4 separate regions of the Homo sapiens genome follow, and all the other regions are linked to region 1. The links are contacts of gene promoters, found by promoter capture Hi-C in blood cells and fetal thymus (Javierre and others, 2016). All regions are on one chromosome and are shown on one strand. Each heading gives the region's core, a stretch centred on a gene start or on the middle of the fragment in contact. The rest is flanking DNA. Distances are from core to core; before and after follow the strand shown.

What was found. Contacts are between HindIII fragments. The CHiCAGO score rates a contact against its expected background, and 5 or more counts as called.
Region 2: a contact is called between the fragment with the promoter of RUSF1 here and the fragment with the promoter of PRSS36 in region 1, in 1 of 17 cell types (total CD4 T cells). The highest score is 5.3, in total CD4 T cells.
Region 3: a fragment that was not itself captured here is called in contact with the fragment with the promoter of PRSS36 in region 1 in 1 of 17 cell types (monocytes); the score reaches 7.4 in monocytes.
Region 4: a fragment that was not itself captured here is called in contact with the fragment with the promoter of PRSS36 in region 1 in 15 of 17 cell types (M0 macrophages, M2 macrophages, M1 macrophages and 12 more); the score reaches 15.9 in M0 macrophages.

Annotation. Positions count from the first base shown.
Region 1 is chr16:31,146,850-31,152,213 of GRCh38, forward strand. PRSS36 (serine protease 36) reads right to left here and starts at 3,217. Exons shown (of 15, transcript NM_173502.5): 1 at 3,150-3,217; 2 at 2,847-2,882; 3 at 2,614-2,649; 4 at 2,224-2,386; 5 at 1,546-1,826. The coding sequence starts at 3,186. RefSeq lists enhancers at 1,851-2,388, 2,389-2,924, 2,925-3,461. The HindIII fragment of the contact is 9,446 bases long and covers 680-5,364 here.
Region 2 is chr16:31,507,118-31,512,398 of GRCh38, forward strand. RUSF1 (RUS family member 1) reads right to left here and starts at 1,274. Exons shown (of 13, transcript NM_022744.4): 1 at 957-1,274; 2 at 647-761. The coding sequence starts at 1,256. It overlaps RUSF1-DT (RUSF1 divergent transcript), which reads left to right and starts at 1,347. Exons shown (of 2, transcript NR_186401.1): 1 at 1,347-1,919; 2 at 2,056-2,449. RefSeq lists enhancers at 260-975, 976-1,690, 1,255-1,824 and silencers at 985-1,044, 1,105-1,154. The HindIII fragment of the contact is 29,640 bases long and covers 1-5,281 here.
Region 3 is chr16:30,865,635-30,871,664 of GRCh38, forward strand. It overlaps a transcript of BCL7C not described here. Among named protein-coding and RNA genes, the nearest start is that of MIR4519, 6.7 kb to the right of the region's middle. The HindIII fragment of the contact is 4,401 bases long and covers 311-4,711 here.
Region 4 is chr16:31,451,905-31,457,201 of GRCh38, forward strand. No RefSeq gene overlaps it. Among named protein-coding and RNA genes, the nearest start is that of ARMC5, 4.9 kb to the right of the region's middle. RefSeq lists enhancers at 1-198, 779-1,551, 1,552-2,323. The HindIII fragment of the contact is 3,667 bases long and covers 1-3,228 here.

The DNA of each region.
Region 1 (5,364 bases), core at 1,967-4,466:
GGGTGCCTATAATCCCAGCTACTTGGGAGATTGAGGCAGTAGAATCTGCTTGAAGCTGGGAGGCGGAGGTTGCAGTGAGCCTAGATCGCGCCGTTGCACTCCAGCCTGGGCAACAAGAGTGAAACTCTGTCTCAAAAAGAAAAAAAGAATTGATGAAAAAAAGAAAAGAATTTGAGGTCAGGTGATGGCTGAAGCTGTACTTGGGGCTCACCAGGGAAGTTGGGGATTGTCCTGGGCGTCCCTGGAGCTGGTGGGGTGCTCTGGCCCTCAGTCTGATCTTAAGGTCTTCATGGCCGGGCCACAGCAGCCTTTGCAGCCCAGGTGCCTGTACCCCTCTCACTCCAGCCTGGCATCCTGGCCCTTCTTCATCTAACATGACTTATCTGGGTCCACAGGGTGGCCTTCATCTCCCCCCATCTTCCTGCAATGTACCCTCTCTTCAAAAATCTCTGCAGAAATCTCCCTCTCTGGGTGCCCATTGTTAGGATGGCCTGGCCCCATTCACACAGACTTCCTGGGGCTCACAGTGACGCTTCCTCATCACCTCCTGCCCTGATGGGACCTCCACAAGCAGAGGCTGTAGCATCTTCCCCTGTAGCACCTACCCAAAGCCCCGAGGATGGGCACAGGTCTGACCACGGCTGATGTGGATATTTGTGGGGGCCCTGGGAGCATGGAAAGCTTGGGTGATGGGGATGATGGGGATGGAGATTTGGTCTATTCCCCCCCACCTTCTAACATAATGCGTGCTTATTTATTGAATTTGTTGCTTGTCTATCTCCTAGGATGTAAACTCTGAAAAGGCAGGATTTTGGCTTTTTATGTTCACTGGTGTCTCTCTAATGCCTAACACGGTGCCTGGCATGTAGAAGGTGCTCAAGAAATATCTTGAGTGAAAGAATGATTGAATGAATGATGGTGGGTAGGAAGAAGAGAGGAGGTGGGGAGTAGAGAGATGAGTGGGGGTGGATGGAATGAGAGGAAGGCGGATGGGAGGGAGGCACAGACTGGCATTTGCTGAATATCTATTATAGGCCAGCCTTATGCTGTAGTGCTTTACTATAGATTACCTGAGGTGAAATATGTAAAGTGCATTGGTTATTGCTATGCCAGGCACTGTACTATGAACTTTACATGGATTTTCTCATTTAATCCACTCAACCACCCCTTGAAGTGGGTATGGCTATTTTCCTCGTGTTACAGATGAGGAAATGTACTGGGTGAAGTGCTTTGTCTGACATGTTAGAGCTGGGATGGGAACCCTAGTCGGAGCCTAAACCCAGGAAAGAAAAAACTGGAAGGACAGGTAAGGAGGGAATGGGGTGCGTGTGGGTGATTCCGTGGTCTTAGTTTGAGAATCCTTGCAGGGAGAAGGCTACATGGAGATCGGTGTGGGATTCATCCACCGACCCGCAGAAACCTACCCTCCAACGCTCCCCGCAGGCTCCGCTCCGTGGCCCCACCTCCTGAGGCCCCGCCCTAGGAACCTCACCTCTCGAAGCCCCACCTCCCCGAGGCCCTCCCCTCTTGTCCCGTCCCACTCACCTGCCTCCTGGACGTCTCCCCAGCCGGTGGCCCAGCAGGCGGTGCCGTGCACGAAGCGGTGTGAGGCGCGGGGCAGGCAGACAGGCCACACGGCGGGGCCCAGGCTGGCGGGTGAGGCCAGGCGCAGCAGGGCCAGGTCGGCGCCCAGCTCCACTTGGCTGTAGTTGGCCGGCACCACGATGGCGGCCACTGCGCGGGTGTGCGCGCCGTCCAGGGGCCCGTCCTGGGAGTGCACGCCCAGCAGTACCGACCACTCGGCCGCGGGCTCCAGCGTCCCATTCCTGCGCTCGACCGGGGCAGTAGGAGGTTAGGTTGACCCTATGGAGGGGGCAGACCCTCGTTGGGGGCAGGGGCTCAGAGCCAGAGGGGCAGGTGCTATCCGATCCAGATTTGGTGCTGATACTCCTCAAAGGGGAAGAGCAAATCCGATTTGGAGCTGGTGGTGGGGGGGTCATTGGAAAGATGGGATTCAGACCCGGATATTGAGTGGAGTGGTGGGACCAGTCCGGCAGCCTTGCCCCACTCGGAACCATGATGCCTCGAATAGCACCTCGCTTTGGGGACAGCTTGGCTCCAAATTATCCTTGAGGACGGAAGTGGGGCGGGAGGAGGGGACCAACTGCGGGGGCGGGGGCCAGCTTTTGGCGGAGAGGGGCCAGGACCAGGGCGAATACTCACGTCATGAAACAGTGAGCAGCGGAGAGGACCCAGGAGGGGGCGATGAGGGAGCCCCCGCAGATGTGGCCACCTCCATGGTGCAGGCTCACTTGCCAAGGCCAGGTGCCCGGCTGCGCGTTTGAGCCCCCCACGATGCGGGCCGAGGGCTCAGGGCGCCCGCAGTCTGCAACGGGGAGCCGTGGAAGCCAAAGCTCCCCTCGGGTTCCCCACTCCAGAAGCCCAGGTAACTCAGGACGAAGGCCCGTCCTCCACCCACTTCAGTTTGCCCCTCTGAACAAAGAACATAGAGGACCCAGGCTTGTCTACATTTCTGGTCTTTTCCACCTCCCTCATGGCCTGACCAGCCTTAGCCTCCTTTAAGGTCTGAGGGTGCCAAGGCCTCTTCCTTACCCAGATCTTCAGGTTCTTCCTGGGTAGGACTGAGAGCTGGGAGCCAGAGGGGAAAGAGAGGAGGACACTTGTGACTTCCAGGCCTGCACCGCCCAGCCCCACTTCCTGCTCTCCAACCCCCGACCCTATCTTCCCACTTCCCTGTCCGTTCAGCAACCCCTGCCAGCACCCATGCCAGTCCTCTGGTCTTTTCTGCCTCTGCACGTGACTTTCCCCCAGTCCGGCTACCTTACCTGAGTCCTGGAAGGCTCCTGGGATGGGACTGATGACTGGAAAGACAGAGGTAGGCAGGAAGAGGCTGGCGACTCGCACTCAGTATGTGCCCTCCCTGACTCCCTCCCCCAGCCTCCTAGCCTCCGTCTCCCCAGGGCACCCAGGCCTCCCTCTCCCTCCTCTGATACATCCTCGCCTTCTGCTGCCTCACTTCCTTCTCTCTGACTTCCTGCTCCCCACACAGAAACCAGGAATCCTGCTCTCCAGCCCCCCAGATGCCAGGACCCAGGCCCTTTGCAGCCACTCTTGTCCCCTGAGGTTACCAAGCATCACAAGGGGGAGGAGCAGGTGCCGGGCCATGGCGCTAGAGTCAGCGGAGGCAGAGCCAAGTGAAGGTCTGCTCCCTGCAGGGCTCTGTCACTGCCCAGGCAGCCCGTGACTCCTGATGGTCCCAGGGGCAGCCCCACCCTCCCTGGCTGGAGCCCATCTCTGGGAATCTGAGAGGATCTGGGGCTGGAAGGGGGAAGCTGGGGAGCCTGAAGGCCCCACCCAGAGCCCTGCGCACATCTCATGTCTCTGGAGGCCCAGGGTGGGGGTGGAGGACAGGTGTCCTAGCTCCTGGACACCTGTTGGGTGGGAGAGGGAGGGATGAAAAACACTGCAGGCAAAGGTCAAAGAGGAGGACAGTGTTCTGTGTCCTTGGTGAGCAGTGGCCCTTAGGACAGGGGAAGTGGCCCCTCACGGGCATGACTCATCGGAGACCTCACCTCTGTTTGGGGTGCGGCTGCCCCAGTGGCTTGGCCTTTTCTTCTCACACAGCTCTGGTTACTGGAGCTGCTGGCCAGGTCTGGGACAGGAGCCCTAGGGAATTCAATCCCATCCCAACAAAAGGATCACAGATTCCAGCAGGTTGGGCAGGGCATAGGGACCCTGGGAGGGGGCTGGGCAGGCTGGCGAGGCTGAAAAAGCCTCCACCCTGCTCTGTGTTCCAGTGACAATGCTCTTAGCTGCCCTGTCACTTACTCTGTGTGACTTTGGGAAAGTAACCCAACCTCTTGGTGTGTATCAGTAAGAGCCAGTTTAAGGGACATATGACTTGGCCGAGCACGGTGGCTCACTCCTGTGATCCTAACACTCTGGGAGACTGAGGTGGGAGGATTGCTTGAGGCTAGGAGTTCAAGACCAGCCTGGTCAACATAGCAAGACCCCATCTCTACAAAAAATTAAAAAATACAAAAATTATGAACTGCAGGGCGTGGTGGTGCACGTCTGTATCCCAGCTACTCGGGAGATGAGGTGGGAGGATTGCTTGAGCCTGGGAGGTCGAGGTTGCAGTGAGCTATGATTGTGCCACTGCACTCCAGCCTGGGTGACAAAGCGAGACCCTGTCTCAACAACAACAACAAAAAGAAAAAAAAAAAGAAGAATAAGAAGAAGAAAGAAACATATGGCTCTTCAAAGAGGAGTTGAAGAGAGTTTAAGGAAGAAACTATTTATAGAAGTGTAGGCAGGGTCAAAGGAAACCAAAGAGGCTGGGTGGCTCACGGCTGTAATCCCAGCACTTTGGTAGGCCGAGGCGGGCAGATCACCTGAGGTCAGGAGTTCAAGACCAGCCTGGCTAACTTGGAGAAGCCCCATCTATACTAAAAATACAAAAATTAGCCGAGTGTGGTGGAACTCACCTGTAATCCCACCTATTAGGGAGGCTGAGGCAGATAAAAATGCTTGAACCCAGGACGTGGAGGTTGCAGTGAGCCAAGATAGCGCCGTTGCACTCTAGCCTGGGTGACAAGAGCGAACTCCGTCTCACAAAAAAAAAAAAAAAAAGGAAACCAAAGAGGGATGGTAACGCATCCTGGGGCCAGCAATAATAGAGAGCCCTTGCTACCTGCTGGCCTGAAGAGGCAGAGAGGGGGCAGTTACTGGAACCCAGCAAGAGCTGCAGCTATGGAAGAGATAGCTGTTAGGAGCCGTGGCCTTCAATAGAGAAATGCAGCCTTTACCAGCAGAGAGGGAGTGGGGAAAGAAAAATCCCCATCTCACTCTCATCTCATCCTCTCTATTTTTAATTAAACCAATTAAAAAATTTTAGAGACACGGTCTCACTCTGTCACCCAGGCTGGAGTGCAGTGCTGTGATTATAGCTCACTGTAACCTCGAATTCCTGGGCTTAAGCGATCCTCTGGCCTCAGCCTCCTGAGAAGCTGGGACTACAGGCACGCACCACCATACCCAGCTAATGTTTTTTATTTTTGTAGAGATGGGGTCTTATTATGTTGCCCAGGCTGGTCTCAAACTCCTGTCTCAAGCGATCTTGCTGCCTCAGTCTTCCAAAAGTGCTGGGATCCTCCCATCCTCTGATCACCCCCTGGCTCTTTTCATTGAAACCTCCCAGAGGCCAGAGTTCAAGGGAGACCATTATATGGTCCATAAAGGTCACTCTTAGGGAACAAATCAGGGTGGACAGCAGAAATGCAGGGTCAACCCAGGAATATTTACACATGTGTATCTATCTTCTTACTGATAATATCAATTAAT
Region 2 (5,281 bases), core at 24-2,523, 360 kb after region 1:
CCCTGCGAGCAGTAGTGAAAGACAAAGGACAGTGGCAAAAGCCATGGGGCCTCCTCGTGTAGAACATGTAACAATTTCCCTTTTCTGTTCTATTTCCCTCTCTGGGTGGCATGGTACCAAACTGTATTTTTTTTCCTTAAACAATTTTTTAAAAGCTGTACATATTCAGCAGATAGTCACTCTATTATTTACAGCATCATCTGGTATCCCAGAGCATACACAATACCTTCCATTCTTTCCAGGCTCTCCTCTCTCCTTCTCAGGACCAACTATATCTTTTTTTTCTGGAGCTCACCAATTTCCCCTATCCTGGGCAGCTGGCAGTTTTATTCCATCAATTGCATTCTTATGCAATCTTCCACAAAGAGAATAGGGATAAAGGGGAGGGGACGGGATTTGGGATCCAGATGATTGAGACTCAGAAGTCTGTGTGGGGAATGGAGTGCGGCTGCTAGGCTGGTGAGTGGGATGAGGGTCTTCCAGATGTGGGAAGTAAGACTGGGTTACAAAGCACCACTCTAATCACTGGGGAGACCTGCCTGAATTCTACCTAATGGGGCACGAGTCCATACATATATACACATAAGAGCCCAGCGAAAGCAGGGCTGAAAGCAGCAATACGTGAGGCTCCAGGGGTGCAGCTCACCTTTCACGAGCCAGGTGGCCGTGGCAGCTGAAACAGTGGCTTTTGCGTTCCCCACCCCTATGCCCAGCAAGACTGCCTGGGTGGCTAGGGAGCCGGAGAGGCTGGAAGCAAACGCCTGGAGAAGAAAACAAGTAGGGTGAGAAGCGGGCGTAGGAGCGTGGCGGTCTAAGTGCCTTCATCTGTTCTTGTTCTTGGTGTATGAGGCATGTCAGACCCCCCGCCCCCCGGGCTCCGAGTCTCAGTCACCCGTCCATTATTGGGGAGGGAGGAGTGGCCTGCACTGTCCTCTGCCCCAGACGACCGAGCTGACCTGCACGGAATCCCACAGCTGGTAGGGCAAGTAGTCCGGGCTGACGCTATCAGGGAAGCCCTGAGGCAGGAACACGGCCTGGAGCCCGGAGAGGGGCGGTGAGGGGGCCCCGGAAGCCCCCACTTCGCCCGCATCTCGTCCTTCAGGTTTGACCGTGAAGGCCCTGGAGAGCCCCCACCAGCGCCAGCCCCCGACCTCCCACTGCAGGCTCCCGTCCGCGGCGGCGCGGCAGCCCCGTGCCTCCCCGGAGCCGAACTGCTCGGAACACAGCGGGGTCTCCAAACCCGCGTCGTCAGCCATGCCGAGCTTTTGGATCCCAGCCCCGCCCCTGCCGCACGGTGGACGTGGCAGGCGGCACTTCCGGCTGGGCTACCGCGGCTGCAGAGGGACATCTTTCAAGAACAGGCGCCGGCCTCGGCGTCCGCCGCGCAGTTAGGAAACTGACTGTCGCTCTCTCCGGCCTCGGCGCTGCTTCGGACGCCCCGGCACCGGCCCCCGTTGCTTTGTAGCATTCTGCAGCTGGGCTGCAGGCGCCGTGGGCCTCCGCCAGTTGTGTTCGAGACGCGGTTCGGCCACAGAAGTTTTAGCTTGTGACTTTTGGCAAGTCAGTGGCCCTCTCTGGGCCTCAGGTGCCTTTTTTGCTGTGAGACCAGCGACTGTATTTTTAACCCTGATTTTATCCCTAGATCTACCCAACACATAGTAGGTGCTCAAAAGATATTTATGAGTGAATGAATGCATCATGAGAAGAAATTGGACCAGATGAGGCCCTGTGAAGCTGCTTGGGTCTTTTTTTGTTCTTTTTTTTTTCTCTCTTCTGAGTGTCCCTGGCCTGGACTAGAAATTCTCCATCCTTCGGCCTTCTGCGAGACTGCAGGAACATTACTTTTGAAGGATGCTAAGGAATCCGAGGGATGAAAAAAATCAAGAGATTGCAATGATGTCACAAAACAAGGAAACAAGGCAGGAAGTTCTTGTGTGTTTTTTTGCGGGAGAGAGTCCATGAAATTGGGGGGAGTCCAAAGAGGGAGTGTTTCTGTCCTTGGAACTCACCTTTTCTTCTTTCCATTTCTCCTCTTCTCCTTCCCATCTAGTGCAGCATCTTCACTCCGAAGCAGAAATTTGCCAAAAAAGCATCCTCTTTTTATCAGAAAATAAAATATCCTGGTTTCTTAGCCTGGCATTCTTGGATCCCCACAGTTTGATCCCAACCGACAACTCCTTATTTGAAACTTCAGATTCTCCCAAACCGTCACCTTCCTCGTGGACTTAATCCTGGAAGGCCCTTCTACCCCACTTCGCCTTATCTCACACAAACACAGTCTCTCTCTGACTGAGATAAACTTGAACACTTCTTTTCTTTTCTTTTTTTTTTTCTTTAAATTTCGGGTTTCAAAATACAAATGGCCTAATCACAACATTTCTGTAATGTTGTCTAAATTCAGGTACTGGTTTGAATAGAGGACAAAAATAAAACAAGGTTTGAAGACTAAGTACTTTAAAAACATATTTATTTAAATAGAGGCAGGGCCTCCCTATGTTGCCCAGGCTGCTCTCAAACTCCTGGCCTCAAAAGTGATCCTTGGGCTGGGCGTGGTGGCTCACGCCTGTAATTCCAGCACTTTGGGAAGTCGAGCCAGGTGGATCACTTGAGGTCAGGAGTTTAAGACCAGCCTGGCCAACATGTTGAAACCCCATCTCTACTAAAAATACAAAAATTAGCTGGGCGTGGGGGTGGTGTGGCCATAATCCCAGCTATCCGGGAGGCGGAGGCAAGAAAATCGCTTGAACCGTGCAGTTGTCATTAACTCCGTGTTTGTTATCTCTTTTTTACCAATGGTTTGCCAGTTTCTTCTACAAATACCTGTTGCTACCTATGTGCTCATTGGGATAGTGAGCAAAAACAAACAAGGGTCTTGGTCTTTTGGAACTTATATTAGGGAAGGATATTGATCAAATCATACAAATAAATGCAAAGTTGGAACTATTTCAATTGCTGTAGAGGGGTACATGTTATTTAATATGAGGACTTTTAGAAGGAGAATTGAGCTAATCAGTGGAATCAAGGGAAACTTTTTTTTTTGAGATGGAGTCTCCCTCTGTCACCCAGGCTGGAGTGCAGTGGCACAGTCTTGGCTTACTGCAACCTCCACCTCCTGGGTTCAAGTGATTCACCTGCCTCACCCTCCGGAGTAGCTGGGGTTACAAGCATTCACCACCACACCCAGCTAATTTTTGTATTTTTAGTAGAGACGGGGTTTTGCCATGTTGGCCAGGCTGGTCTTGAACTCCTGGCCTCAACTCATCTGCTTGCCTCGCCTCCCAAAGTGCTGGGATTACAGGCATGAGCCACTGTGCCCGGCCAAGGGAAATTTTTTAACAAAAATTTAAGTTGGGGTCTCTCTGTGTTGCCCAGGCCTCCCGCCTCGGTCTTCCAAAATGCTAGGATTATAGGCATGAGCCGTTGAGGCCAGCTGGGAAACTTTTTTTTTGAGGAAGTGTGTATTTAGCTGAGATCTAGAGTAAGAGTTAACTTGATTATGATGGGAAAATAATTTTCTGGAAAGAAGGAGCAGCATGTCCTGAGTGGGGAGGGAGCATGGTACCTAACATCCAACAAAGGCCGGTGCAGCAGAAGTCTAGAGCACGAGGGGCATGGGGAAAGGGCTGCTAGGGAGTTAGGGGCCAAACTGCAGGACATTGTAGGCCAAGCTCTTCTTCATCCTTAGGGTTAAGATTTATTTTTTATTCTATCAGTCAATCAATCAATCGATCGATGAGACAGGGTCTTGCTCTGTCACCCAGGCTGGAGTGCAGTGGTGCAATCATAGCTCACTGCAGCCTCAAACTCCTGGGCTCAAGTGATCCTCTTGCCTCAGCCTCCCAAGTAGCTGGGACTACAGGCATGCACCACCATGCCTGGCCAACTTTTAAAATTTTCTGTAGAGATGGGATCTCACTATGTTGCCCAGGCTGGTCTCCAACTCCTGGCCTCAAGTGATCCTCCCACCTCGGCCTCCCAAAGCTCTTGAGATTAAAGAATATATTGGTATATGTTGGAGTGGCACTTTAGAGAAGTAGTTGAATAAATTTAATTTTTTTTAAAAGACAGGTTCTCTGTCACCCAGAGAGTGCAGTGGTGTGATCACACTACAGTCTCACTACAGCCTCAACTTCCAGGGTTCAAGTGATCTGCCTCAGCCTCCCGAGTAGCTGAGACCACAGGCGTGTGCCACCATGGCTAGCTAATTTTTGTATTTTATTTTTGTAGAGACAGGGTTTTGCCATGCTGCCTAGGCTGGTCTCAAACTCCTGGGCTCAAGTGATCTGCCCACCTCAGCTTCCCAAAGTGCTGGGCTTATAGGCATGAACTGTGCCTGGCAGAAATTTAATGTTTAATTCTTATTTTCCATTTAGCTTATAACACTGTCAATAAATTATCCTTTCAAAATAATTTTGAGTTTCCTGGCACAGTGAAAGATCAAGCATTGTGTTATATTTGAAAGGTTAGCTTCTGTGAGTGGATAGGACTCTGGGGCATCAGAGGGCCTTACTGTGAATGTAGGTTCTGTCCAGGAAGCTGTCCAGGAAGCTGTGAGATCTTGGGCAAGTTACATATCTCTCTGTCTTTCAGTTTCTTCTTCTGAAAGACGAAATGGTAATGGTAAAATGGAAATAATACTAGTACCTACCACACAGAGTTGGAACGAGAATTAAGAGTCATGTCTTGGCCGGGCGCGGTGGCTCACGCCTGTAATCCCAGCACTTTGGGAGGCCGAGGCGGACGGATCACGAGGTCAAGAGATCAAGACCATCCTGGCCAACATGGTGAAACCCCATGTCTACTAAAAATACAAAAATGAGCCAGGTGTGGTGATATGTGCCTATAGTCCCAGCTACTTGGGAGGCTGAGGCAGGAGAATTGCTTGAACCTGGGAGGTGGGGGTTGCAGTGAGCCGAGATTGCGCCACTGCACTCCAGCCTGGGCGACAGAGCAAGACTCTGTCTAAAAAAAAAACAAAAAACAAAAAAGTCATGTCGTATGTGCAAAACTCTTAAAGTATTTAGCACATAGTACATACTGTTTAAGTGTTGGTTCTTATTCAGAGATAATGTCAAGTGTTCAAATGTGAGGCCCTTGGCTCCAAGTGAGGCAGGTGGCCCTCATGACTAGTGTCACTGTATAATTTATTGTGCAAACCAGGACTTTTGAGAGGGTCATTAAAGGAAGCACTGGTAATAATTGTGTTGGGAAAACAGGTCTGCGGGAAAACAGGTCTGCAGTGAAGCTGTCTCAGGCAAATGGGAATATATGGTCACATTAT
Region 3 (6,030 bases), core at 1,261-3,760, 280 kb before region 1:
GGACTCTAGGTGGCAGGAATAGTGTTACTCTCATTTTTCCTCATCTGTATTTCCTGACATTTTACCGTGCACATACATATGGCTTTTTTTTTCTTTTTTTTTTTTTTTTTGAGATGGAGTCTTGTTCTGTCACCCAGGCTGGAGTGCAGTGGCGTGATCTTGGCTCACTGCAACCTCCACCTCCCAGGTTCAAGCGATTCTCCTGCCTCAGCCTCCCTAGTAGCTGGGATTACAGGCGCCCGCCACAGTGCCCTAATTTTTTTTTTTTTTTTGTATTTTTAGTAGACACAGCGTTTCACTATGTTGGCTAAGCTTGTCTCGAACTCCTGACGTCAGGAGATCCATCTGCCTCAGCCTCCCAAAGTGGTGGTATTACAGGCGTGAGCCACCTCGCCCGGCCATATGGGTTTTATAACAACAACAAATCCTCATAATAGACGAGAACAAAAAATTGTAAACTATCTCAGTAATAAAACTCAAGGACTGGGGAGAGTGGGAGAGTTAGAAGCATGCTAAAGGCAGCGTCTTTCAGGGAGTGATGGAGGAGTTGGCAAGCATAATATTTTGATGGAGGAGGATTATTTACCATGTATCCATAGAGCAATTTAAGGATATGATTGTTAGGAAAGAAGATAAACACTAGCAGGTTAGCAAAGGGAAGGCTGGGTGCGGTGGTTCACGCCTGTAATTGCAGCACTTTGGTAGACTGAGGTGGGTGGATCACTTGAGGTCAGGAGTTTGAGACCAGCCTGGCGAACATGGTGAAACGCTGTCTCTACTAAAAATACAAAAATTAGCCAGGCGTGGTGGCACGCACCTGTAGTCCCAGCTACTCAGGGGGCTGAGGCATGACAATCGCCTGAACCTGGGTGGCAGAGGTTGCAGTGAGCCAAGATCGGGCCACTGCACTCCAGCCTGGCCAAAATAGCGAGACTGTCTGGAAAAAAAAAAAAAAGGTGGGGGGGTGGGAATTAACAGGAACTTGATGAAACCCACCAAAGTTAAAGAAAAAAAAAGGCACAGAGGAAAACATTAATGAAATGTAAATAGTAAATGTAAAATAAGGCGGAAAGAAAGTATATTGCTTATTGAAATAAATATGAACAGGCTGAATTAACCTATTATAAGTCAGAGGTTTGCTGGGCGTGCCGTCTCATGCCTGTAATGCCAGCACTTTGGGAAGCTGAGGTGGGAGGATTATATAAGGCCAAGAGTTCACGACCAGTCTGGGCAACATAATGAGATATCTTCTCTACAAAAAGTTTAAAAATCAGCTGAGCATGGTGGTGCACACCTGTAGTCCCAACTATCCAGAAGGCTGAGGCTGGAGGATCACTTGAGCCCAGGAGTTTGAGGCTACAGTGAGCTACAATTGTGCTACTGCACTCCATCCTGGATGACAGGGAGATACCCTGTCTCAAAAACAAACAAAAGTCAGAGCTTGTCAAACCAAATGACTTTTAAAATCTAGCCATATGCAATGTATAGGAAATGCACATAAAACAAAGTGACAAAAATGTTGAAAGTTAATAGATGGACAAAAAAATTCCAGGCCCAAAAAAACATGATTGGGGGAAGGTGGGTATCATTGAGATTCTGACCATGTTTATTTCTTGGTTTGGGTGGTGGTTATAAGGATATTTTGTTTTGTAATACTATCTTAGACTATTTTTCTATGAATATTTATGTATATGGATGTTTCATAAGTGGTAGGCAGAATAATGGCCATTATTCTGATGTCCTAAAATTCCCACACCCTAACCCCTGGAACATGTGAATGTCTTAGTTTACATGGTGAAGGGATTTTGCAGGTGTGATTAAGGACCTTGAGATGCGGGTGGTCTTGGATTATCCAGGGGGGCACAATGTAATCATGTTGGTCTTTAAAATCAGAGACTCGGCCATCCCAGCACTTTGGAAGGCCGAGGCAGGCAGATCACCTGAGGTCAGGAGTTCGAGACCAGCCTGGCCAACATGGTGAAACCCCATCTCTATTAAATATACACAAATTAGCCAGGCGTGGTGGCGCATGCCTGTAATCCCAGCTACTCAGGAGGCTGAGACAGGAGAATCGCTTGAACCCGGGAGGCGGAGGTTACAGTGAGCCAAGATCGCGCCACTGCACTCCGGCCTGGGCAACAGAGCAAGACTCCATCTCAAAAAGAAAAAAATAAAATAAAATCAGAGACTTATTTCTGATTTTGATCAGAGGGAGATGTGATTGTGGAAGAATGGTCAGAAATGCAGTGTGACTGACTCTGAAGATGGAGGGAGGGGCCTCTGGAAGCTGGAAGAGAGAGTGAAACAGACTGTCCCCTAGAGCCTCCAGGAGGGAACACAGCCCTGAAGACACCCTGATTTGATTTCATTTATTTATTATTTTTTGTTGTTGTTTTACAACAATCTCTTGTCCAACAGAAACACCTCGATTTTAGCCCAGTGAGACTCATGTCAGACTTCAGACCTACGGAATTGTAATATGATAAATCTGTGGGTTTTTTTTTTTTTTTTGAGACAGAGTCTTGCTCTGTCACCCAGGCTGGAATGCAGTGGTGCGATCTCAGCTCACTGCAACCTCTGCCTCCTGGGTTCAAGCGATTCTCCTGCCTCAGCCTCCCGAGTAGCTGGGACTACAGGCGTGTACCACCCGACCCGGCTAATTTTTTTTTTTTTTTTGTATTTTTAGTAGAGACAGGGTTTCACCATGTTAGCCAGGATGGTCTCCATCTCCTGACCTCCTGATCCGCCCACCTCGGCCTCCCAAAGTGCTGGGATTACAGGCGTGAGTCACCGCACCCCGCCAAATCTGTGTTGTTTTAAGCTACTAAATTTGCTGTAATTTGTTACAGCTATAGAAAACAATACAATAGGCCAGGCGCGGTGGCTCACGCCTGTAATCCCAGCACTTTGGGAGGCCGAGGTGGGCAGATCACCTGAGGTCGGGAGTTCGAGACCAGCCTGACCAACATGGAGAAACCTGGTCTCTACTAAAAATACAAAATTAGCCAGGTGTGGTGGCACGCGCCTGTGATCCCAGCTACTTGGGAGGCTGAGGCAGGAGAATCTCTTGATCCTGGGAGGTGGAGGTTGTGGTGAGCGGAGATTGCGCCATTGCACTCCAGCCTGGGCAACAAGAGCGAAACTCCATCTGAAACAAAACAAAAAACAACAGCAACAACAAAGAAAAAGAACAGAACGGAAAAGAAAAATAATACAACAGCAAAAAAAAAAGATTTAAAAAAAATTGGCCTGTTATGCCTCTGCTTTACCTCCCTTCTCAGCTTCCACATTACACTTTTAAAATGAATCTGTAATTTTTTCTTTTTTTTTGAACTCCTGACCTCAAATGATCCACCTGCCTCAGCCTCCCAAAATGTTGGGATTACAGGTGTGAGCCACCGCACCCAGCCATGAATCTAATTTTTTCATGGCCATGGCTTTGTGAGTCGACAGTTATGGGAAAGACAAAGTAGAAAGAGTGCCGAGCTTGAAGACTGGGGCCAGAGTCGTAGTTCCAGCTTTGCTGTGTCACTCGGGGCCTATCGCTTTCCCTCTCTGAGCCTATAGCCTTCATTATTTTATTTTGTTTTTTGCGACAGGGTCTCACTCTGTCACCCAGGCTGGAGTTCAGTGGCACGATCATGGCTCACTGCAGCCTCGACCTCCCAGGTTCCAGCAATCCTCCCACCTCAGCCTCCTGAGTAGCTGGGACTACAGGCGCCTGCCACTGTGCCCAGCTCATTTTTTTTTACTTTTTGTAGAGATGAGTTCTCACTATGTTGCTGGCCTCGAACTCCTAAGCTCTAGTGGATCTCCTGCCTCTGCCTCCCAAAGTGCTGGGATTACAGGTGTGAGCCACCACGCCTGGCTCTTTCTTTTTTTTTTTTTTTTTAAAGAGACGGGGTCTCGCTCTGTTGCCCAGGCTGGAGTGCAGTGTCACGATCAAAGCTACTGTAGCCTTGAAACTCCTGGGCTCAAGGCATCCTCCTGCCTTCGCCTGCAGTGTAGCTGGGACTACAAGTGAGGACAATCATGCCCGACTAATTTTTTTTATTTTTTGTAGAGATGGGGTCTCGCTATGGTGCCCAACCTGGTCTCCAACTCTTAGCCTCAAGCAATCCTCTCACACTGGCCTCCCAAAGTGCTGGGGTTACAGGCATGAGCCATGGTGCCTGGCCTTTTTCTGTCTTTTCTGAGTTCAGCATGGACCTAGCATAGAATGGCACCTCCATGATTGTTGAATGAGTAAACAAATTATTCCTTGCCCTTAAATTAGAAGATAGAATGAGGTGATATCTAAGAAAACTCTTCTCTAAAATTCTAGAAAAATAGAGTAGGGCAGCGGCTAAAAGCCTAGAATCCATGTGTATGAATACATGCATCTATCCATCTATCTCATATATCTATATATCTCACCTGTATCTCAATCTCTTAGCCCAGGGCCTGCCACCTTAGGAAGATGCAGTAAATGGGAGCCATTGTTACCATCACATTCCTGTTCCCCAGGGAGGCTCAAGGATTCTCATCTCCTTTTCCCCAAACTCCAAGCCCCTCAGCCCAGCTGCTGCTCTAGAAGCCTAGGCAGAAAATGGTTCCTTAGACCAGGCCTTACGACTCCTGGCCTGCCAAAGGAGTGAGACTTCTTTTTTATAAGAACACCCTTTTCATAGTGGTCTTTTAAGTTTCATTCTGAAGTTCCTAAAAAAAAGGAAGCTTGCTTTCATTAGAAAAATTGGGAAAAGAGGCCAGGTGCAGAGGCTCACACCTGTAATCCCAGCACACCTGTCTTCTCGGCCAAGGTGGGAGGATCACTTGAGCCCAGGAGTTTGAGACCAGTGTGGCCAACATAGTGAGACCCCGTCTTTACAAAAAAAATAAAAAATTAGCCGGGTGGGCTGGGTGCGGTGGCTCACGCCTGTAATCCCAGCTACTCAGGAAGATCAAGCAGGAGGATCGCTTGAGCCCAGGAGTTGGAGGCTGCAGTGAGCTGTACTCCAGCCTGAGTGACAGAGCAAGATCTTGTCCCCCCACCAAAAAATAAAATAAAATTAAATAAATAAATAAATAAACTGGGGAAAGAGATTTTATAGATAAAGTAGAGCCAGAGAGGGTAAGAGACTTGCTGGGGTACCACAGCCAAGCATCACCTCCCTCCCTTACATGACTCTCAACTCCAGAATGTCCCTAAGGAGTGGCCAGAGCAGTAGACTCAGGGATGGGCACCTGGGTTCCAATCCTTGTTGCTCCATTCACTAGCTGTGTGCCCCTGGGCAAGTCACTTCACTGTCCTAGAATTCAGTTGACTTATCTGTAATATTGGAAGAATAGCGCCTGGGAAGTAGCGAGGACCAGATAAATTGTAAATGTACCCAGCCCAGTGCTGACACATAGTAACTCGGTGGCAGTTGCAGGCCAGGGGAACAGTTGTTAACTCATCACCAGAGGGGCCAGAACTGGGCAGGGGGAAAGGTGTCCTGAGTGGGAGATCCAGGTCTTGGGGTGCTCCGACTCTGGATCTCTGGGAAGAGGAATCCCCAACTCTGCTTCCCAAGTAGCTAGAAACTGACTTAGGAGGGGGACAGCGTATAGGGAACACTGAAATGCTGCTGTAAACGATGGCTGGAGTTAGCCTCATCTGAACTCTGTGTTTGAGGGTACACACTCTGAAGTCAGATGATACGGATTCAGATCTGCCTCTATTATATACTATGGGACAAGTGACTTCACTTCTCTGTGCCTTGCTTTTCTCATCTGTCAAGTGGAAATAATAAGAGTACTTACCTCACTAAGTTATTGAAATGATTTTGTAAGATTATGCATGTAGTGCTCTGAGAATATTCACCTAGCTCAATGTTAGCTTTTTTTTTTGAGACTGAGTCTCACTCTGTCGCCCAGGCTGGAGTGCAGTGGTACGATCTTGGCTCACTGCAACCTTCACCTCCCGGGTTCCAGTGATTCTCCTGCCTCAGCCTCCTGAGTAGCTGGGACTACAGGCAGGCACCACCACACCTGGCTTATTTTTGCATTTTT
Region 4 (5,297 bases), core at 145-2,644, 300 kb after region 1:
GCCTGCTGCGTCTCACTCCCCACACCCGGCAGAGGCCTCTTTGGCTCTGCCTGCCCCTAGAGGCTGTAAGACAGCATTGTTCAGGAAAGGGAGGAAAGGGAATGGGTGTAGGAAAGGAAGAGCGGATCTCCTTTGAAGAATTATCTTTAAAAAAAATTATTTTTTTAGAGACAGGGTCTCACTCTGTTGCCCAGGCTGGGGTGCAGTGGCACAATCCTAGCTCACTGCAGTCTCAAATTCCTGGGCTCAAGCGGTCCTCCTGCCTCAGCCTCCTGAATAGCTGGGACTACAGTGAACATCACCACACCTGGCTGGTTTTTTAATTTTTTCTAGAGATGGGGTTTGCTATGTTGCCCAGGCTAGTCTCGAACTCCTGGGCTCAAAGCATCCTCTCACCTCAGCCTCTCAAAGTGCTGGGATTATAGGTGTGAGCCACCGCCTTTTTTTTTTTTTCTGATTTACTATAATATTTCTAGTAAGCCATTGGCTTAGAAACCAGATTCACTAATTAATTCATTTACCCTTTCATGATACAAAATTTTTTAACTGAGTGAGGCCTTTCCTGAGAATTGAGCACATGAGCTTTGGTGCATGGACCTGGAAATCTCTGCTTCTTGAACTCCTAGGGGCTTCCTTTACTTCATTCACTCCTGGTGCTCAGCAAATTTCTGAATGGGGGAGGTTGGCCAGCCTGGGAGAGGTCACCCACGCCAGGAAGTCTCAGTACCTCTCTATTTATCCTATCACTTGGGAATCCTCTAGGATCTGTTTCAGGGAGTCTCTGGTTAGCCCTGAGACATAAGTGGTGCGGGTGAGACTCCTGGGGCCTATCTCAGAGGTCCTCACACCCCTGAGATTAAATCAGTCAGGAGGCAGGGTGGAGAGAGGAGTGTCCTATCAGGTCTGAGGAGGTTGTCAACTTCCTGGACTTCTTGCTAAGGACTCCTCTTCCCACCCTTCATGGGTAGCTGAGGTCAGGGAATCTGTAGGGACAAGACTTTCTTTTAAATGCTAATCTGCTGACTAACCCTGAGTCTGGGAATGCCTCCAAAATGTCAAGCTGATGTGTTTTTTTATTTTTTGGTTTTGTTTTTTTTGTTTTTTTTTTGAAACGGAGTCTCACTCTTTCATCCAAACTGGGGTGCAGTGGCACGATCTTGGCTCACTGAAACCTCCACCTCCTGGGTTCAAGCAATTTTCCTGCCTCAACCTCCCAAGTAGCTGGGATTACAGGCACGTGCCACCATGCCTGGCTAATTTTTATATTTTTGGTAGAGACAGGGTTTCACCACGTTGGGCAGCCTGGTCTCGAACTCCTGACCTCAGGTGATCTGCCCACCTCGGCCTCCCAAAGCGCTGGGAATACAGGCGTGAGCCACCGTACCAAGACATCCCACAGCACCAGCCTGTGTGTGTCTCGCCAGGCTCAGAGCTGGGAACCTGGAACCCAGGACTGGGTGAGCTCAGAGACATAACTGTGACTGTACTGGAGTCAGTCTTATGCCCAGAGCTAAGCAGAAGCAGGGCCAGCCCAGAGGAGACGATGTTACCGACTCCCACCCCGTCCTGTCTAGCGCTTAGAGTACCTCTGTACTGGCTTGCTTCCTACAGTTGCTCTGGGAGGAATGTGTGCCAGAGACCCTGACCTCTGACCCAGGCATGCAAGGGTCTGCCTTGCCTAGTTGAGCCTGTGCACTCTGTCTCTGCCTCCCTTCAGATAGGGAAAGGAGCTTCAAATTACGGGGTGATGTCATAGCACGGAGTGGAGATGGGGTGGCAGGGAGACAGGGAGGCTCAGGGAAGGAGGCCAGGTATTTCACAGAGGAGTTCTGGGGGAGAAGAAGGAAAACGGCAGAGAAGGGAACAGGAAGGGGTGAAGGAAAGGGGAAAAGTGCCTTCACTGCATGGAAAGGTCCTTCTCACCCACAGTGGGGTGGGATGGAGACTGTAACCTCAAGTACTTTTCTGCAGGGGACAGGCAAGTAACACATATGAAACGTGCTGAGTCAGGGATGCAAGAGGGAGTGTCCCTGTTCCTATGTCCAGGACAGCCACTACTCAACGAACTGCTGCCATAAAAATCCAATGTTGCAGCATCTTCTGATATAAATAATAAAGCAGGCCGGGTGTGGTGACTGACGCCTGTAATCCTACCACTTTCGGAAGCCGAGGTGGGTGGGGGAGGGAAGGGCCGGGGCAGGGGATCTTTTCTTTTTTTTTTTGAAACGGAGTCTTGCTCTGTCACCCAGGCTGGATTGCAGTGACAGGATCTCCGCCCACTGCAAGCTCTGCCTCCTGGGTTCATGCCATTCTCTTGCCTCAGCCTCTTGAGTAGCTGGAACTATAGGCGCCTGCCACCATTTCCAGCTAATTTTTTGTATTTTTAGTAGAGACAGGATTTCACCTTGTTAGCCAGGAAGGTCTCGATCTCCTGACCTCGTGATCCGCCCACCTAGGCCTCCCAAAGTGCTGGGATTACAGGCGTGAGCCACCGTGCCCGGCCAGGAGGGGATCATTTGAGCCTAGGAGTTCAAGACCAGTCTGCAACCTGGCAAGATCCTGTCTCAATTAAAAAAAAAAAAAAACAAAAAAAACAACAACAAACCAAGCCCCAGAAATCGACTGTGATGTGAAATCTCCTTATTTAAATGTTGGCTCTTTAAAAAAATAAAAAGACCAGGTTAGGTGGCTCACATCTGTAATCCCAGCATTTTGGGAGGCTGAGACCAGAGGAACACTTGAACTCAGGAGTTCAAGACCAGCCTGGGCAACACAGTGAGACCCCGTCTCTACAAAACATTTTTTAAAAATCAAAAAATTAGCCAGGTGTGGTGGTGTATGCCTGTAGTCCCAGCTCCTTGGGAGGTTAAGGTGGGAGGATCACTTGAGCCCAGGAGGTTGAGGCTACAGTGAGCCACAATTGCACCACTGCACTCCAGCCTGGATGACAGAGTGAGATTCTGTCTCAAAAATAAATAAATAAATAAATAAATAAATAAATGGGCATGGTAGCTCACACCTGTAATTCCAGCATTTTGGGAGGCTGAGGCAGGGGGATTGCTTGAGCCTGGAAGTTTCAGAGACCAGCCTGGGCAACAAAATGGAACTCAAAAAGTAAAAATCTTGGCTTGTTTGAAAACACACACACACACACACACACACACACACACACACACACACAGCCAAAACAAATGTGTTTCCCATCTCGGGCTTGGGCACTGGGTCACAAGCTTGGACAGTGAAGCTACTTCTAAACCCAGCACAGGGTACAGTGGATGCAGGACATGGGATAAACTCCTGTTAGATTAAGCCCGTCCCTCTGCTTCTGAGGTCTGGCCTGCCTCGCTGTTCTGGTCAGAACCTGTTTTATGCAATTGGAGAGGAGAGGGGTCCCAGGAGTATTAGCCCTAATGTGAGAAATTAGATTACAGGTCTCTGAAAGGGATTCTGCAAACCAATCCTCCTTCCAAGCCTACTCTACCCATACCTAATATTCTTAAGCAGTTATGAATTTTGCAGAGGTCTACAACACTTGACACTCACTCAAGGCAACTGTGAGGAAACTGAGGCTTAAAGGCCACTAGTAAGCAGTGTAAAAAGGACCTGATCATGACAATTATTCTTTGAGTGCCTACCATGCATGTGCTGGGCTCAGGCCCTTCACTCAAACCCTGGCTCGTACTCTCTGAAGGGTCCTGGGTGAGGAAGATGTCAAGAACCCCATACCTCATCACTGACTCCCTGCCGGGGGCATGTGCTGCTCCCAGCCTGAGATGAGTGCTGTTCATTACACGTCATCTCCATGAAGCCTCCCGCATTTGCTCCAGGAAAGGCCCGTTCGCCACCCTGGCGTCATTCACTCTGTGTTGCTGATATTGAGTCTGTTTCCTTCAAGGGGAAACAGGCTACCCAAGGACTGGGGCTGCTGCCTTCATTTCTGTAACCTCCGGGGGGAGCTCTTGTGTGAGCCGCATGATGGATGCTTGCTAACAGCTCTAGGCAGGAGGCAGAGGGAAACTGAGGTCTGCCGAGTCATCCCTGGCCCAGGTACTTCATGCGTGTGCAGTGTTGCTGTGGAATCTTTACCACAACCTCCCATCCCTGTTTTACAGATGAAGAAACAGGCTCAGAAGAGGCAGACGTGTCTAAGATCACACAAGCCTTGACACCATGAGCTAGAAGCTGAGGGTGAGGTCACTTCACATCCCTTCCCTTTAGGTTCTACTCTATGTGGGTAGCGTCCTCGACACAGAAAGCCTGATAAAAGATGGCAAAATTACCGGGCGTGGTGGCTCATGCCTGTAATCCTAGCACTTTGGGGGGCTGAGGCGGATGGATCACTTGAGGTCAGGAGTTCGAGACCAGCCTGACCAACTAGAGGCTGGTCTTTAGTAGAGGGTTGGTGAAACCCTCTACTAAAAATACAAACACTGGCTGGCATCGTGGCGCAAGCCTGTGGTCCCAGCTACTCGGGAGGCTGAGGCAGGAGAATCACTTTAACCCAGGAGGCGGAGGTTGCAGTGAGCTGAGATCGTGCCACTGCACTCCAGCCTGGGCAACAGAGTGAGACTCCGTCTCAAAAAAAAAAAAAAAAAAAAAAAAAAAAGATGGTAAAATTTGGGGGCAGCAGACCAGATGCCTGGACTGATGGTAGGACTGTCCCACAAGGGGTGGACATTAGGTCCTTGAAACAGACAACTCCCTCCCCCAGCAGGGAAGGGAAGGGCCTCAGAGCTTGGTGTCTACTCTGAGCACAGGCAGGTGCTTTGGGAAGCCTACCCCTGGCTCTCACATACACAAAGTTATGCCAGTAGAAATATATGTTTGGGCAATGCCCAGGCAAAAGGGCCATGTTCAGTCCCCAATGTCCAGGCACAAAGGACTCTTCGCCACTCTTCCCTCTCTTGACAGACTGGCAGAAAAGGAGCCTGGGGAACTTGGAAGGGAAGGGGATAAGGCAGGGGAAGGGGCAGATGACAAACCCTGGGCCTCTTGCCCCTGCCCAGAAATGCAACAAAGCAACCCCTGAACTCAACATACAGGTCTGTTCTGGGGCCCCCACCACCCTAGCATCATCCATAATGATAGTTCTCACGTGCTGAGAGGACTTTTGAAGGGCTCACACACCCAGGGCTCACACAATGGTCCCAAGTTCAAATTCTCTGGCCCATCTGCCAGAACACAGGATCCCTCATGGTTCCCTCTGGAGGTTAGGAATGCCCCGCCTGCGCGCTGCCATGGAACTCCTCACAGGGGCTTGCCTGATTTCTGGTCCCATTCCTCTGGGAAGAGGTAGC